Regions from separate parts of the Homo sapiens genome. Here regions 2 and 3 are each linked to region 1. The links are contacts of gene promoters, found by promoter capture Hi-C in human tissues and cell types (Jung and others, 2019). All regions are on one chromosome and are shown on one strand. The core of a region is centred on a gene start or on the middle of the fragment in contact, and the rest is flanking DNA. Distances in the headings are between cores, read along the strand shown.

What was found. Contacts are between HindIII fragments. The study calls those that stand out against the background at their distance.
Region 2: a fragment that was not itself captured here is called in contact with the fragment with the promoter of STK38 in region 1 in 1 of the 25 tissues and cell types used here (mesenchymal stem cells).
Region 3: a fragment that was not itself captured here is called in contact with the fragment with the promoter of STK38 in region 1 in 1 of the 25 tissues and cell types used here (pancreas).

The regions. Positions count from the first base shown.
Region 1 is chr6:36,545,636-36,549,027 of GRCh38, reverse strand. STK38 (serine/threonine kinase 38) reads left to right here and starts at 1,549. Exons shown (of 14, transcript NM_007271.4): 1 at 1,549-1,838. RefSeq lists a silencer at 1,404-1,743 and an enhancer at 1,491-2,014. The HindIII fragment of the contact is 5,084 bases long and covers 1-3,392 here.
Region 2 is chr6:36,323,370-36,326,761 of GRCh38, reverse strand. BNIP5 (BCL2 interacting protein 5) reads left to right here. Exons shown (of 12, transcript NM_001010903.5): 5 at 9-252; 6 at 1,348-1,479; 7 at 2,572-2,633; 8 at 3,229-3,392. Among named protein-coding and RNA genes, the nearest start is that of BNIP5, 12 kb to the left of the region's middle. The HindIII fragment of the contact is 8,343 bases long and covers 1-3,392 here.
Region 3 is chr6:36,726,893-36,730,284 of GRCh38, reverse strand. It overlaps RAB44 (RAB44, member RAS oncogene family), which reads right to left. Exons shown (of 14, transcript NM_001257357.2): 11 at 2,594-2,708; 12 at 1,484-1,585. Among named protein-coding and RNA genes, the nearest start is that of RAB44, 31 kb to the right of the region's middle. The HindIII fragment of the contact is 8,420 bases long and covers 1-3,392 here.

The DNA.
Region 1 (3,392 bases), core at 300-2,799:
GGCTTTGGAAGGAGGAAAGAGAAGAGGAGAAAGAACATTGGATTTGCAGACAGAAAATGGGGTTCCCCTCTTGGCTACTTGGCTTACTAGCCGTGGGAATTCAGACAAGTCACTTAGCTTCTCTAAGTATCAATTACTTCATCTGCAAAACCTCGTGTGTCACTGCCAAAGTGAGGACCAAGTGAGATTAAATAAGTGAAAGTTGTTTGTAAACTGTAAAGCATTATGCAGACATCTTGGACTATTATTAAAAGCTTAAGAATGGGTAGGACTTTGACAACAGGCATTTGGGGAGAAGGGCCTCTGGGCAGAGAGAATGAAAGGCGAAGTGATTGATTGATATGTATGTAGTGACTGATTGAGACAGGGTCTCCCTCCGTTGCCCAGGCTGGGGTGCAGTGTCATGATCATGGCTCATAGCAGCCCTGAACTCCTGGACTCAATCAATCCTCCTGCTTCAGCCTCCACAGTAGGTGGGACCACAGGCACTTGCCACCATGCTGGCCAATTACAAAAATTTTTTTAGAGGTGGATTCTCCTTATGTTGCCCAGACTGGTCTCAAACTCCTAGGCTCAAGCTATCCTCCCACCTGGACCTCCCAAAGTGCTGGAATTACAGGCAGGAGCCACCGCGCCTGGCGAGAAGTGATTTTTGTTAAGAGGCTAGACAAAAGGAAACTGGGCTTTGAAGATGAAATGAATGAATAACTCGCAGCACATGCTTCCTTCTCTCCCTAGATGGCCCCTTTGCAGGCAGTCAGGGACCATGTCTCGTTCATCTTAGTTTCCAGGAGCTTGACACTTTGTAGTTGAGGGCTTTGTGCTCCATTCTCAAGAAACGACAAGTGCCCAAAGGCTATTAAACTTGGGACCTCTTTACCCCCAAAAGTAGTACAGAATAAGAGTTGGGTGGCCTTGAAAAGCACCTTCTTCTGTCCACACTGGGTCGCCCGCTGGGTAACCTCCCAAACCTATGAGAGCTCACCTTATCCCAGGTAAGGTCCTTACTTTAAGGAAGAGGAGGGGGGCCAAGGGCTCCAGCAGACCTGTTCTACACGGGGTAGGGGGGTGGGTGGGAACTATACAGGTGACAACATTTCATAGAACTACACACACACTCACACACACGCACATGACTGCATACCCAACAGGTTAAATCCGAGTGTGGTCTGTAATGAAGTTAATTGTATTGGTTTAGTTAATTGTATTGGTTTAGTTAATTGTATTGTGCGAATGTCAATTTCCTGGCTTTGAGAATGTTGTATCTTAAGAAAAATGTTGAGGTAAGCTGGGTGGGTGATGGTATAGGGAACCTGTATGTATTAATTTTGCAACTTCTTGTGAGTCCATAATTATTTCGAAGTAAAAAGTAAAACAAAAGAAAACAATGGAACTTCCCCCTCAGCCCAGCCTACTTCGAGACCGCCTCACACTCACACATCTGGCCTCACCCAGGTCCAGCCAGCCCTAGGCAGGGGGTGAAGGGAGGGGCAGGGCGGGGCCACGCAAGCGCAGTTCCGCAATCCCGGCCGCTCCGGGAAGTCGCGCATGCGTAGTCTCGGCCCCGGGCTGCCGCGCCAGCCCGTCTCCGCGGCGGGGGACCGGGCTGCCTTGGCCCCTCAGCGCTCGCGTCTTTTCCGGCAGTTGGAACGCTTCCTGTTGTCCTCACCCGTAACCGCCTGTTGCCCCCTGTCTCAGAGTCCCTCACGCGTCCCCTCCCGTCTTTGGCTCGTTGGCTGCCGCCGCCGGGGCTTCGCCAGCCTTCAAGTCGAGACTACTGGCCGAAGGGGCGTCTGCGGCTCTCCGCCGTCCCCAGCCCTGCCTCTCCCTGGGCTCTGGTGAGTTGCTTGCTGCCGCCGTCTTCACTCCATCCCGGGGTTTTTCCTTTATCTCCTCCTTCCCCAACCTCCGACTCCTTCTTGGGCTTTCTCCTGCTCGCCGGCGCCCTCTTTCAAGCCCTAACCTCTCAGCCTCTTGGCCTCTCTCCGCCCCTCTCCTTAACCCCCTTCTTCCCCCGTCTCCAGATGCCCCTTGTTGGCCCTCTCCACATTTTTCCAGTCCCAGCCTTTCCACCCCATCCTTTATCTTTCTCCTTTTGCAGTTGGAGCGGGAGCCAGGCTTTCCTTTCCATGTTGCCACCTTTGTCTGCTCCCTGCCACCAGTCAGTCCCTCAGGGATCTCGGTCATCACCGGTTTTTATCTCCTTTTCCTTCTTCTGGGGTCTGTGAACTGTGGTCTGAGGCAGAGATGTCGAAAGCCCCCCTTGGGGTGTGGTATCTTTGAGTCGGCTCCTTTCTCCGTTAGTCTTAGGATACTGGGCTTCAGATAAGCTTCAAATCACAGGAAAAGGCAGGGAAAATTCTTAAGAAGAGAGTGGAAAAGCAACAGCCAGAGGAAAAAGTCGGTAAGGGCTTAGAGGAAAGTCTGTGTCAGAAAGCGGGCAGAACGGCCGGCAGAGAGACCAGATCTCTCAGTTCATTCTGAAACGACTAAAAGACTCGGAGAGAAACTTGTTCTGTTTGAAATGCACCGAGGAGGGTTGGAGTGAAGTAGACCCTGAGTGTCTCCACCCTTTGAGCTCACCCTGCCTCTGAATTAGCCAGGCAATATATTTGGTTTCCCTAAACATAAAACAACCACCACCTCGATAACAGGCTCTCCTCCCCACCCTAAACGTTAGATACCAGCTTCCTCCTAAGAGGAGAGAACGCTATAGCAAACCATTTCATGTCCCAGCCCTATCCCCCATCACACATAAACTCCTAGGAATGGACATCAAAAATGAGTATATTTCCTAGTTAATCTTTCTTAAGGTGCTAAGTGCATAGCACTGTGCATGAAATGGGGGAAGAATATTAAAACAAGTATAAGACATGGTGCTTGCTTTCTAGTGTAGGTAGAGATTACAGTTTAGTAGGATTTACAGTTCAGTGGGAGAGATTAGACATGCGACTTAAGCAATAATCTTAGCTCCAATGTTGAATCGTCCAAATGAAAGATAATGGATTGTCAGTCGCAAAGAAATAAAGTCCATATTGTTGAGAGAGGGTTGTTTATAGTGATCACAGAGTACCATTGTAAAGTCAGTCAGTTAGCCAGGCATAACCATATAGATTGAATCACATAATGGTTTTCATTTGACTTCCTTTTGAGTTTGCAGGCCTTACACCTGACTTTTATGAGGATCAGTTCCTTTTGTTAATTTTTTAAAACTTTGAAGAATTCCTCAGCCACCTATTATTTCCTAATTCTTCAGAGTTGAAGAATGAAACAAATGGGGCAAAGGCCTCCAATGGCTTCTAGGTCAGGGCAGGAAGGCTTGAATTGTGGAAAGCCTGATGGATAGTCCTGTCTTAAGAAAAGTTGGTTGACCCAGTAAATCTATGAATTGC
Region 2 (3,392 bases), core at 493-2,992, 220 kb after region 1:
CCCAACAGCAATCTCTGGCCTCACAGCTGGGGGTGGCCCTGCCAAACCCAGCACCAGCTGTTAGGAAGAAATCCCAAGAGAAAAAGACAAGCCTCAAGAGAACCTCAAAGACAAACCCCAAGAAACACGGCTCCGAGGAGGCCAAGAGGGGGGCTGCAGATGTTTCCAGTCCAGAGGCCTGGCCACCCAAGAAGTCCAGCTTTCTGCCCCTGTGTGTCAGCGGCCATCGGCCTTCCATCTCCAGCAGCTATGGTGAGCAGGCTCTGCAGTTGCCATAGCAACCCTGCAGCTGCCTCCAGCTCTGGAACCTTCCCTGGGGATGGAATTGACCATTTTAAAGGTTGCGTTGTGCCTGGTCTGACTTTTGCACTCTGCCCTGAGTGGTGTGAGGATGACTGTGGGAAGACAGAAAGAATGCCAGCAGGTCACCTCCACACACAACACCTCAGCGAGCTCTAGGCAACCCCAATAAGCCCTTGATGGAAATTATGTTCCGGGATTTCCCAACCGTCAACATTTCTTGGCCGCCTCAACTTCTGCACCCTGGCAGGGAGGGGAGTAGTGTGTGCAAGAAGGAGCTGGAGCAGGGGAGGCAGGAGACCTGGGTTCTAGCATATTGTCTATGTCATTCCCCATCTTTGTGCCTCAATTTCTTCACCTGTAAAGTGAGACATTTCCCTGCTGCATATCTATAACACGATCAGTCCTCACAGCCATCAGATGAAGTGCAACTATTATCCCCACAGCCATCACATGGAGTACAACTATTATCCCCACCTTACAGATGAAGGACCTGAGGCTTTGGGAGGTAAAACAATGTGTTCAAGGCCACATGGCCCATGGATGATGGGGCCAGAGCTAGAGGCGGAAAGGATCAGACAAGTCATTTCTTCCTGGGCATCAGGGAGAACAGGTCATCCTGTTAGGTCATCCTGGCCAGGAGAATTTACATCTTAGAAAGGAGGGAGTGACGCTTAACACCAAAGAGGGGAATTTCAGGCCCATGGGGAGATATTTTCATGCAGGGGGATTCTGGCTATGATTCATTAATTCATGCCATGGGACCAGGCCTCTACTCTTCAACTTGTGGATCAAGTCAAAATGGTGGAGGGAGGAGAGGGCAGCAAAGCCCAGGAAAGCCAGTTCTATGGAAGCACAAAGGGATAAGGGAACTCGGTCTGGGCCAGTAAATCAGAGGCACAGCCCTGCCCAGCAGCTGTCTTCCAGCCCCATAAGTCCTTAATGTGATCCAGCCACGGAGCCCACTTTTAGTTTGTGCTAGCTTCTGTGCATAGTTAACAGCCCCAGACAGACAAAACACACCCTCGTTCTCCTTCTGCTTCTCAGGCTTGGAAGAACCTAAAGTCCAGGAGGCCCCATCTACAGAGGCTGGGGCTCCAGGTCCCTCCGTGCTTCCCACCCCATCAGAGAGCCAGGAACCTGGAGAGGAGCTTCCGCTGGACAGAGCCTCGGAATACAGTCAGTACTCCTCTCTTTTTCTCAGACACCCCTTGCAAAACTTCTGTTCTGACTCCCCCACTTGCAAAGAGACACTGAGCCAGAGAGAGGCAGTGACCTGTCCAGACCTCCCTCTGAGTACAGCAGGCTGGGGAGGCAGCTTGGGGCCCAGAGCCCAGGCCCAAGCCAGGCTGCCTGTCTGAACCTCGATAAATGGCGATAGTGTTGGTGCTTACCCTGATGAGGCAGACAGGAGGCAAAGGGAGGAAAGTGCTGGCCCACACCAAGGGCTCGGCCAATGGGGTGATCTTATGGACCTTGGTTTGAGTCTGGGCTGTGACCCCTTTGAGCTGTGTGGACTTGGGCAAGTTACTTCATCTCTGGTCTCAGTTTCTTCATCTGTGAAATGGGGGCAGCAAGTACCTGCTTTCTAGAATTGTCGGCAGCATTTAGGGCAGCCCCTGTTAGTGGCTAATATGTGTTAGGTGCCATTTGTTGCTATTATTGTCATTGTTGGGTGGCCCAGCTTGAGAGCAGAGCTCAGAAGTAAAAAGGATAGGGACAGGGGTAGGGGCCTTGGGAGGGAAGCTCAGCTAATGGCAGCTGCCATCGCTGTAATTATTATTTTACCATTGGCAGAGCCAGGCCTAGAAACATATATATATATATATATATATATATATATATATATATATATATATATATATATATATATATATATATATATAATATCACCGTCAGGTCTGAAAAGACCTGGAAAGATCTCTGCCCCCTATCCCCTGCCATTCTGCCTTGTTTGCTTTTCATAGAAAATATGCCTTGAAGGGAAATTCTGCCTGGACAGGGAGAAGGTGCAGGATGAGGGCACCTGTAGGGAATGGGCCTTTCCAGATGGCCCTGAGGGGCCTCCTCCTGGGTGTCTATTTAGAGGCCGTCATTGGTAAAGTGAATATGTATCCCATGAAACCAGCTCTGCCCTCAGGCCACCTCTGGCAGCTCTTTAGCCCCCTTGGAGAATCACCCAGGGAGCCACCGGGGCATTAGGAAATGAAGACTGACCGCAGAAGAGATTTCGTAGCACCAAAGTTAACCATGCGTGTTGATCTTTTTCAGAAGAATTCATTCAGAAGATCATTTCCATGCTCCAAGATGCAGAAGAACAGCAAGGAGAGGAGGTGAGGAAGACGCTCCCCATGTAACCCTGACCTCACTGTGGGCTCCCCAACCCTGCCTGGTGTAACAACTTCCCTGTCTCTGCTGCTCTTCTGTGTCCTGCTCCAGTCCCTCCTTTTTTTTTTTTTTTGGAGACGGAGTCTTGCTCTGTCGCCCAGGCTAAAGCACAGTGGCTCGATCATGGCCCACTACAACCTCCACCTCCTGGGCTCCAGCGATTCTCCTGCCTCAGCCTCCTGAGTAGCTGGGACTACAGGCATGCGCCACCACACCCGGCTAATTTTTGTATTTTCAGTAGAGACAGGGTTTTACCATATTGGCCAGGCTGGTCTCGAACTCCTGACCCCTGGTGATCCACCTGCCTCAGCCTCCCAAAGTACTTGGATTATAGGTGTAAGCCACTGCACCCGGACCCAGTCCCTCCTTCTTGAAGCTTCCCCAGCCCCCTCCAGACCACACATATTTCCCCAGCACTGAGCATCAACCACTCTTCTCTGGGCAACGCCTGCTAGCCCACCGTGGCTCTCTTTCCCCACCTCACCTGAGATCTCCTCAAGGTCAGGGGCCCTGACTCAGTTTCTCTCATCTCCCCCACAGCAACCTCAAGTCCAGCAGGAAGAGGTGGGTGTAGAAAACCCGGCCCCACACTGCAGAAGGAAATCTCAAGAAAAAAGGTCGAGCTTCAGGAGAGCGTTTTACCATAAGAAACACACCTCCAAGGAACCCAGAAGAGCGGGGGCAGCAGGGGCTGCCAGCCCAGA
Region 3 (3,392 bases), core at 549-3,048, 180 kb before region 1:
TATCTAAACCACTGCTGTTAGTGTTTGGGTAGATATTGCCATTCTGTTTTATATAACCCTTTTACGGGGCGGGGGCTAACTGTCCTGTACAGTTAGGTTAAACCACACGAAATTGCTATTTTTGGCAAGCTCCAGTCAAATATCAGCAATTTCATATGTTTCAACCTAACCTATATCTAGATTTGTAGCTGCTTATATGATTTTCTATTATATTGTAAGCATTTCCCCCACACCCTTAAATATTTTTCCAAGACAGGATTCTTAATGGCAAATACTAACCTCTCACATGAACATCCACAGTTTAACCACCAATTGCTGCCAAATGTTTGTTCTTATAAATAATATTTGAAAACCCTCATATAAACCTGTTCGATTGTACGTTATACATGGGTATCCATTAGGTGTTCCTTTAGGGATTATTACTTCTGAGTCTTCCCTTACGATAAATTGCTAGAGGATAAATTACTATGTCAAAGGGATGAGTTACTACTTTTAAGAAAAAGGCCGAGCATGGTGGCTCACGCCTGTAATCCCAGCACTTTGGGAGCCCGAGGTAGGCAGATCCCTTGAGGTCAGGAGTTCCAGATCAGCCTGGCCAACATGGTGAAACCCCGTCTCTACTAAAAATACAAAAATTAGCCGGGCGTGGTGGCACATGCCTGTAATCCCAGCTACTAAGGAGGCTGAGGTGGGAGAATCGCTTGAACCCGGGAGTCGGAGGTTGCAATGAGCCAAGATCGTGCCACTGCACTCCAGCCTGGGTGACAGAGCAAGATTCCATCTCAAAAAAAAAAAAAAGAAAGAAAGAAAGAAAAAAAATTCCCTTCCAGCAGGAGCCACAATGATGACCTCACAATTTACGGGAAGTGGGAAGAGAAACAGGAAGGAAATACAGTAGGAAGATGCCAAGAGGGGTTGTGTGAGAGGTGGGGCGAGGAGTGATTTTTCCCTCTATTTTTATTACTCTCCAGATTTTCTGGAATGTGGTTAAATGCCATTCATGAATAGATAGTGTTCACTGTCTGGCAGTGGGGCTTTTGATGTAATCATCCCAAGGGAGAATTTGAGTCTTAAAATAGGAGAACTTAGAAGGCAGCACGTTAATTAGAGACCAGAGATAAAATTAAAATTTGATTGGGAATTTTAAGCAAAGCTTTCAAAACCTTTTTACTCTGAAGCTATTTCTTATGTAGGTGGGGACATGGTGTGGGAATGTGCTAATTCAACAGTGAGGTTCAGTGTCACGCCCGCCACTCCAGCCTTGGGTTTGGGCTTAAAGCGCATCTCCAGAGGCCAGGGCTGTGTGGGAGGCAGAGGTGGCTAGGCTGCTGTCCACTCTGAACAGGCCTTTGGTTGGGGCAGGGGCAGGAATGGGCCACGGGTTCTTCTCGGCTGCCCAGGTCAGGTGATGCCTATCCACCACCTGCCAGGGAGGTGTCTGCCCAGTCCACGCACAGAGACGGGCTGATGCCCAAGTGCTTACCTGGGCCAGTTGCTGCCCAGCTTCCACGGACACTTGCCGTTCCTCCTCACAGTCCATCTTGTTTCCCAGGAGAAGGATGACCACCCCATCCGACCCTGCATCCTGCACACAGAACATGTTCTGTCAGCCACACCCACTGTGTGCCAGGCTCCTGGCACATTTGCCTTCCTAGAAGCTGAACTGTGTCCCCCGCATGTTCCCCCTCCCAGGCCACATCCACTCCATAACCTTCTCACCTGGACCCTTTCCCCCATCCTTCCTCTCTGCTGATAAACATCTCACTTATTTTCCAAGGCCAACCTTAAGAACACCTCCCCCAGGAAGCCTTCCTGGGTTGTTCCTGCCCATGTCCTCTCTTCCTGCCTGTTCTGAACAGTCCAGCACTTGATTATACATTTTCCCAATTGTCTCATGAATAATAATAATAGTTTCTGATTAGTGAGTGATTGCTATACACCAGGTGCTGTGCTGAAAGCAATTCTATCAATTAATTGTCACAACTCCCCTATGAGAGAATTCCAGAAATTGAAGTTCAGAGAACTCAATTCACTTGTCCAAAGTCACAGAGTTCGGGTGGGTGGGATTCAAATGTAGGTCCTGTCAGACCCCAGTGCTCAGCTCCCCTCTTCACACATTACCTTATCCTGCTTCTTTTGCTAAACTAGAAACTTCCAGAGAGAAGGCAACATGGCTAACTTCACACCCCTCTGCTGTGCTAGTACACACTGCAGAATTTCAGTATATATGCTTTGAGGAAGTAAGCAGGGGAAAAACTAGAGATGTGTGAACAGAGGAATTACCACATGGAATGGCACAAGAACTACATTAGCCTCAAGTGTAAGAAGAAGACATTACAAACAGCTGCCATATGTAGGAAGAGAATGTTCACAGGATAAAGGAAGTAGTTTGGTTTGAAGTCTGTACTATGTGGTTGTGGTTTCTTTGTACTACTGCATTCCCAGCTCATCCAACCACATGCCCTCAGTGGGTGGTGTCACCCATATGTCTGTCATGTCATTTGTAATCCTGGGAGAAAAGAGGGAGTGGGCAGGATATAAGATCCCTCTTGACTGGAGGGACTGGGGCCAACCCCAGCAGCCATCTGCTCACCTGGAGACAGTCTAGCCAGTAGCGCACGTGGGCAAAGCTCTCCTGGGAGGTGATGTCGTACATGAGCACCACCCCGTCAGCCTTGCGGAGCAGCTGTCGCGTCATACTGTGGTACCTGCCCAGAGAGTCTGCATGAGGCCACACCAGGCATCCAGACCCCAGGCCCTGGCCTCTGCAAAGTGGGAGAAGTAACCTATCCTACTTCTAATTGCTTCCCACAGAGCATGTCCGTATGCTTTTCTTCGTACAGTGTAGTTATTGTTGACTAGGTAACAGTTCTCATGGCTCAAATTTCAAAAGGTCTCAAGGAGAACTCAATGAAAAGTCTCCTTCCTTCTGCCCCATCCTGGAGCCACCCAGTCCCCCTCCCCAGAGGCAACCAGGGTTATCAGTTTCTTAAATATTTTTCCAGAGGCATTTTACGTATATACATATATATACACACACATATATACACCCATACACATACATCTTTCCCCCTCTATTTTATACAAATACAGTGTAAAACATTCATCATACTCATTAATATTCAGTGTTCTGCATTTTGTTTTTTTCCAGTTAACAGGATGTCTTGGAGAAATTTCCCTATCGGGCTGGGCACGGTGGCTCACGCCTGTAATCCCAGCACTTTGGGAGGCTGAGGCAGGAGGATCACTTGCGGTCAGGAGTTCCAGATCGGCCTGGCCAACATGGTGAAACCCTGTGTCTACTAAAAATACAAAAATTAGCTGGATGTGGTTGTATGTGTCTGTAGTCCCAGCTCCTCAGGAGGCTGAGGCACAAGAATCACTTAAGCCCT